Regions from separate parts of the Homo sapiens genome. Here region 1 is linked to region 2. The links are contacts of gene promoters, found by promoter capture Hi-C in blood cells and fetal thymus (Javierre and others, 2016). All regions are on one chromosome and are shown on one strand. The core of a region is centred on a gene start or on the middle of the fragment in contact, and the rest is flanking DNA. Distances in the headings are between cores, read along the strand shown. Region 1 overlaps RNF150 (ring finger protein 150). Region 2 holds the start of CLGN (calmegin).

The links. The method cuts DNA at HindIII sites, captures the fragments that hold promoters and counts their contacts. A CHiCAGO score of 5 or more calls a contact.
Region 1: a contact is called between a fragment that was not itself captured here and the fragment with the promoter of CLGN in region 2, in 2 of 17 cell types (monocytes and endothelial precursors). The highest score is 6.0, in monocytes.

The regions. Positions count from the first base shown.
Region 1 is chr4:140,877,820-140,881,178 of GRCh38, reverse strand. All of the region lies in intron 6 of RNF150 (ring finger protein 150), which reads left to right. Among named protein-coding and RNA genes, the nearest start is that of TBC1D9, 120 kb to the right of the region's middle. The HindIII fragment of the contact is 1,250 bases long and covers 1,089-2,338 here.
Region 2 is chr4:140,425,253-140,429,067 of GRCh38, reverse strand. CLGN (calmegin) reads left to right here and starts at 1,420. Exons shown (of 15, transcript NM_004362.3): 1 at 1,420-1,531. RefSeq lists an enhancer at 2,214-2,263. The HindIII fragment of the contact is 13,619 bases long and covers 1-3,815 here.

The sequences.
Region 1 (3,359 bases), core at 464-2,963, 450 kb before region 2:
AAAAAAAAAAAAGTACAAAGGAAAGTTTATATCAATAAATGACTACATTAAAAAAGAAAGATCTCAAAGAACCAAACTTTATACCTCAAGGAACTAGAGAAAAGAAAACAAACCAAATTCAAAATTAGCAGAATTTCAAGGGAATAATAAAGATTAGAGCAGATATAAATGAAATAGAGAATAGAAAGACAATGGAATAAAGCAACCAAACTTAGAATTTGTGTTTTGAAAGGATCAACCAAATTGACAGATCCTTAGCTAGACTAATTAAAATAAAGAGAAGACTTGAATAAATAGTTAGACATTAAAGAGGAGACATTACAACTAATGCCAAAGAAATAAAAAATATTATGAGACTACTGTGAATAACCTAGAAGAAATGTATAAATGTAGAAATTCCTAGACAAATGCAATCTGTTATGACTGAATCATGAAGAAATAGGAAATTTCAACCAACCTATCACTAGTAAGGTGATTGAACCAGTAATAAAAAGACCTTTTGTTTAAAACAAACAAACAAACAAACAAACAAAAAAAAACCCAGGACCAGATGGCTTTACTGGAGAATTATCCCAAACATTTAAAAAAGAATTTATGACAGTTCTTCTCAAACTCTTCCAAAAAAAAAAAAGACTGGAGAGGAGGGGACACTTCTAAACTATTTTATGAGGCCTGTATTACCATAATACCAAATCCAGACAAAGATACTACAAGAAAAGAAAATTACAGACCAATATAACCAATAAATATTGATGCAAAAATCTTTGACAAAATATGAGGAAATCAATTTAAACAGTACATTAAAAGATTATATACCATGACCAAGTGGGATTTATCCCTGGAATGCAAGGATGATTCAGTATACAAAAAAAAATCAGTCAGTGTAATACACCACATTAACAGAACAAAGAATGAAAATCACATGATTATCTCAACTGATGCAGAAAATGCATTTGAAAAAATTCAACATGCTTTTATAATAAAAATATTCAACAAACTAGGAATAAAAGAATTCCCTCAACATAAGAAAGGTCAAGTATGAAAAGTCTATAGCTAACATCATTCTAGATGGTGAAAAACTGAAAGCTTTCTTCCAAGATCAGGAACAAGACAAGAATGCTCACTCTTACCACTTCTATTAAACACAGTACTGGAAGTCCTAGTCAGAGCAATTAGGAAAGAAAAAAATATATAAAAAGCATCCAATTTGGAAAGGAGGAAATAAAATTATCTCTGTTCACAAAATGACATGATCTTATATGTAGAAAACTTTAAAGATTCCACATTTCAAATGCTCTTAAAACTAATAAACTATTCAGCAAAGTCAAAGTTTCTAGGTGCAAATTTTTTTTTTCTTTTTGAGACAGGATTTTGCTCTGCCACACAGGATGGAGTACAATGGCACAATCACAGCTCACTGGAGCCTCAACCTGGGCTCAAGTAATCCTGCCAGCTTAGCCTCCCAAATAGCTGGGTCCACAGACATGTGCCACCATGCCAGGCTAGTTTTTTTTCATCTGTAGAGACATGATCTTGCTATGTTGCCCAGGCTGGTCTTGAACTCCTGGACTCAAGTGATCCTTCTGCCTCAGCCTCCCAAAGTGCAGGGTACAAAATTAACATAAAAGATTAGTTGAATTTCTGAACAGTAACAATATGAAAGGAAATTAAGAAAACAGTTCCATTTATGATAGCATCAAAAAAGTAAAATACTTAGGAATAAACTTAATGAACAAGGTGAAAGACTTGTACACTGAAAACTTAAAACATTGCTTAAAAAAGTTAAGACATAAATAAATGGAAAGATATCACATGTTCACGGATTGGAAGACAATGTTGTTAAAATGTCCATACTACCCAAAGCAATCTGTAAATTCAATGGAATCTTTATCAAAATCCCAATGGCATTTTTTTTGTGTGGAAACAGAAAAACAGTCCTAAAACTCATATTTACTCCAAATAGCCAAAACAATCATGAGAAAGAAGAACAAAATTGAAGGCCTCACACTTCCTAATTTCAAAACATATTACAGAGTGATGGTAATCAAAACAATATGGTACTGGCATAAAGACAGACATGTAGACCAATAAAACAGAATAGAGATCCTCATGTATATGGTCAAATAATCCTCAACAGTGAGCCAAGACTACATAGTGGTGGAAGGATAGTGTCAAAAAATGGTGTGGAGAAAAGTGGAGGTCCACATTGCAAAAGAAAGTAATTGGACCCTTATCTTAGAGCGTAAGCATACAAAAAAATCACTCAAACTGAATTAAATACCTAAATCTAAGACCTGAAACTGTAAAACTCCTAGAGGAAAACAGGAGGGGGAAAGCTTCATGGCATTGTATTTGGTAAGGATTTCTTGGAAATGACACCAAATGCACAGGCAACAAAAACAAAAATAGACAAATTGGACTACATTACACTAAAATCTTCTGCACAGTAAACAGTCAACAGAGTGAAAAGACAAGCTACAGAATGAGAGAAAATATTTGCAAACCATATATTTGATAAGGTGTTAATATCCAGGATACACAAAGAACTCCTACAACTCAAATTACAGAATAAATAACCCTATTGAAAAATAGGCAAAGGACTTGAATAGATAATTTTCCTAAGAAGAAGTACAAATGGCCAACAAGCATAAAAAAGATACTTAACATCACCGATCATCAGGGAAATGTGAATCAAAACCACAATGAGGCCAGGCACAGTGGTTTACGCCTGTAATCCCAGCACTTTGGGAGGCCAAGGGCAGGTGAATCAACTTGAGACCAGGAGGTTGAGATCAGCCTGGCTGATATGGTAAAACCCCATCTCTACTACAAGTACAAAAATTAGCTGGGCATGGTGGTGCATACCTGTAATCCCAGCTACTCAGGAGGCTGAGGCACAAGAATTGCTTGAGCCTGGGAGGCAAAGGTTGAGTGAGGTAAGCCAAGATTGTGCCACTGCACTCCAGCCTGGGTGATAAAACAAGATTCTGTTGAAAAAAAAAAAAAAAAAAAAACACAATGAGATATCACCTTAACCTGTTAGGATGACTAATATTAAAAATAAATAAATAAAATTTAAAAATAAACACAAAATAGTAAGTGTTGATGGGGATATAGAGAATCTTTCTCCCTCTGATCTCATTGAAACCACAGCCAACACTTCAGGAGCCACAGTGACCTGTCTGAACCATTCCACATCCTTCATACACTAAGCCACAGGCAAGTCAAACCATCCACATGCCTTGAAATTTGCTTTGATGATTGCTATAGTCATGCTGGCCCTTCTGGAAGGAATTCCATTTCCCCTTACCTCCATACTTCCCAATACTAATTAGATCCTCACTGCCAGCCTACATGTA
Region 2 (3,815 bases), core at 171-2,670:
GAAATGGCACAGGGACTGGAGGGGGTGAGGACCTCTTTTAGATGATTTTATGGAGTTAGAGTTTAATTTATGGAGGCAGTGAATGTAGCAGCCAAAGAGTAAAAAAATGTTCTCAAGGTTTTGAGTACTATGTGACCAAGAAGATACTACTAAATCTTGCAAAAATTCACTATTCTTACATTTTTAGTTTTCAGCTTCCTCACTGCAAACTTTGAATGGATCCTTTAAAAAATCCCTCTCTAGCAGTTCAAGTGTATTTGTTATGGGCCACAGAAGTATGTTGAATAATAGAAGTCAGAAGGACGGAAGAAAGAAATAAAGGGTATAATATTGTTACAAAGTATCTCAAACAAAATGTCTTTTTAACCAGTAAATTTTAACACTATCCAAACACTCTCCCAGAGATGACAAAGTCAAAAGTTTAGAAATGCTGGTCTTAATTAGTGAAGCAATGTGAAAAAACTCAGTGATCTTGACCCCTAGCCAATAATGATACGTTGTGCACGGAATGCCACCAAACCCTTAAGATTGAAACTCTTCAACAAGGGTCTTAGACTCACAAGTCAATTAAATGTTGTTAATTAATCTTCCAATAAAATTAAATTGTTATACCAAATTCAAAGTCAAGATTTACTATAAAATATTAAGTAGTAAAATTAATATTGATCCAATATATAAAAGGCAAAGCAGCTTGTGATTGCATAATCATAGCATAAACTACGTTTATGCTAAGATTTATTTCAATGTGTTTGAAACTACAGGCTCTGAGAGAGACAGGCCTGATTTACATCCCGTTTCCACTGTTTACATGTTGTGTAACTTCGAGCAAGTTGCCATCAGTTTCATCACCTGGGTTGCCACGAAGGTTAAACAATGAATGTAAGCCCCTTAGAGCACAATGAACACAATAAATGTTAGCAGCTCTTATTAATAGTGTTGTTCGAGAGAAAAAGAACATATTGTTTTATATACAATGTATTTATTAACACTTAACGCATCTGTATTTGTCATATACACACACCAGACAGGAAAGCTCCTTATTAATCACCATGACTGCAGATCTGTTAACATCTAGAACTCTGGAGAAAACCTAGAGCCCTAATCTTGCTGCACTTATTACTGGACGTTGTTCATAAATATGATTTACATAAAATTCAGGACCCAATCATTGCGCAACAGGAGGTAGCACGGTCTGCAGAGAGGGCGGGAGCTCAGAGGAGGAAAAGTCTTCGGACTTGCAGGGGGAATTCCTCCTGGGCTAACCCGGGAGCGGGGTCCAGGCCACAACCGGCCGGCGGCGGCACAGGCTCCATGTGCGGCTCCCCCTGGAGGCGGTTGAGCCCCTCGGAGCAGGAGCGCGTAGCACACACCTCGGGCCGCCACCGCCTCCCGCCCGCCACCGCACGCGCACGCGCGGTTAGTAGTCGCTGCTGCGCGGCCGCCGGCGGGACTGGTCTGAAGAGACGCGGGGACCAAGTGGCAACGACTTGGACATCTGAGCTGTCACTGCCGAAAACAGGCCGCAAGAGAGGTGCGTGAGCAGCAGGCCGCGTTCCCGCTGTCCCGCTGCCCTTTGCGCGCAGATTGGGGTGAGGAAGCGGAGTCGTTGCTGCTTCCCCCAGGCACCCCGTTACTTTGCCGCCAGAGGGCTGAACCGGTCGGGGCCAAGTGAGGGTGGATGTTGAGTCTGGCGATGGGGCTGCAGCGAGCTAGGGTCTTGACTGGGCTCTGGCGGCCCCGTGGGTGGACGCAGGAGGTGGTGCCACCTGGGACCCTTTGTGTCTTCAGCACCGCCGCATCCACCTGCTGCGCCCGGGCTGGGGCGGACGAGCACGGGGACAGCTAGGTGCCTAGCCCGGCCGGCCTCCCCTGCGGGCTTGAGGAGCCACCGGGAGCCGAGGCCGTTATTCCAGCGGTTGCCATTGCAGCCCCGTTCCACGCTTGAGCCCGGGGCGCTCTCCCAATGGTTGTAGAGGGGGCCCGGGGCGCGTCTGGGCGCTGCTCACTCTGCTGACTGCTCCTTACAGAAACCCAAACGAGATCAAAATAGGCTCGGCTGTCTCAGTCTCCACCTATGTGGAAGCGAAGGGACCCCACTTCACGGCGGTGGGGCCAGGGACTGTTGGCCGCTCCCTCGATACCCGCGCAGAGCCCATTGTGCGCCGCCGGGGGGCGGGCGAAAGGGCTGGGTTGAATCCAGAGAGGCCCTAATTACTAGACTCATTATCGCCCCAGGCCTGTTTACCATCAATCAGACACTTTCGCTGATTTTATTTATAGCATCTGCCCAAGCAACAAAGAGGAGGTGTTTGCTTGGGAGTTAAAAGCAAATGGCAACCAAAGCTCAGGACTGGGAGAGAAAAGGTAAATAACGTGGCCACAGGAAGAAGTCTCAAATTAGAAAAGAGTTCATTAACGTATAAACTTTTTGTTGCTTAAAAGCAGGCAAAATCCCGATCTCATCTGATGATTTTGCTTGTTTTACAAATGTCGACATCACTCGAGGTAGCCCTCCTTTGGGTCATTGTAAGTTTGACCTGTTTTCAGTTTGGAGTTTTGCCTTCACGTCTTATTGGTTTGATCTTCCAGTAACATTTAGATCTCATCTCCAAATCCTCAGAACAAGATATTCTGTACTCTCTGTCTTAGCTAGTTGATAAGGTTAATTATTGTGTGTAAATGATGTAAGTATGTTGATGCATTTGTCTAGAAATTGAAGTGTTGTAAGTTAGCTGTAGTACTTTTTAAGTACCTAATAAATACTGGTGTTTTTAAATAGAAAACTAGAATTATGAACTTTAAAGAATCTTTGGATTGTCTAGTTCACGTCACAAATGAGAAAACAGGCCCACAGCAGTTTTTATCACTTGTCTTTTTAATAATAAAACTAGAAACTTGGTGCGATTGTGCCATGTTGGGTGTACTTTTTATTATATCATTCTACATTGCATTCCTGAAGCCACATGACAACTAAAACTTTAAGTAATAGGTGATTGTCAAACACCACTTCTGGAATATACCAGTGTTGGTCGGATCCTCAGTCAGCCATTAAAACTGAATAACAGCAGAAAGGCATCGCAGTTATAAGAAATAGCATGTACAAAAAGTGTGTTAAATAGGTGTGTTGAGAGTGAAAGAAGGCCCGGCGCGGTGGCTCACGCTTGTAATCCCAGCACTTTGGGAGGCCGAGGCGGGCGGATCACCTGAGGTTAGGAGTTGGAGACCAGCCTGACCAATATGGTGAAACCCCGTCTCTACTAAAAATACAAAAATTAGCCGGGCATAGTGGCGCGCGCCTATAATCCCAGCTACTCGGGAGGCTGAGACAGGAGAATCGCTTGAACCAAGGAGGCAGAGGTTGCAGTGAGCCGAGATTGTGCCACTGCACTCCAGCCTGGGTGACAGAGCAAGACTCCATCTCAAAAAAAAAAAAAAAAAAAAAAAAGGAATTACAAAAATGTGTCACAGAAACATAAAGTGACTATAGTGTTGGAAAAATGGCAGCTGTAGACTTGTTCAATGCAGTGTTGCCAGAAACCTTCAATTTGTGAAAAATGCAATAAATCAACGTGCAGTAAAATGAGGTATGCCTGTATGTACACACACACACACACACACACACACACACACACACACACCCTATTGATTCTGCTTCTCTGATGAACTCTGACTAATAAAATGACTCTCCTCCAAGTAATGATTCAGGGATTCTGCAACTTCCTACCTTGGAATTTTGCCGTTTTCAACCATGACCTTCAAAATTGCTTGCATCAAACCAGAAGGGGAAAGATCATAAAGAATTATAATTCATAATT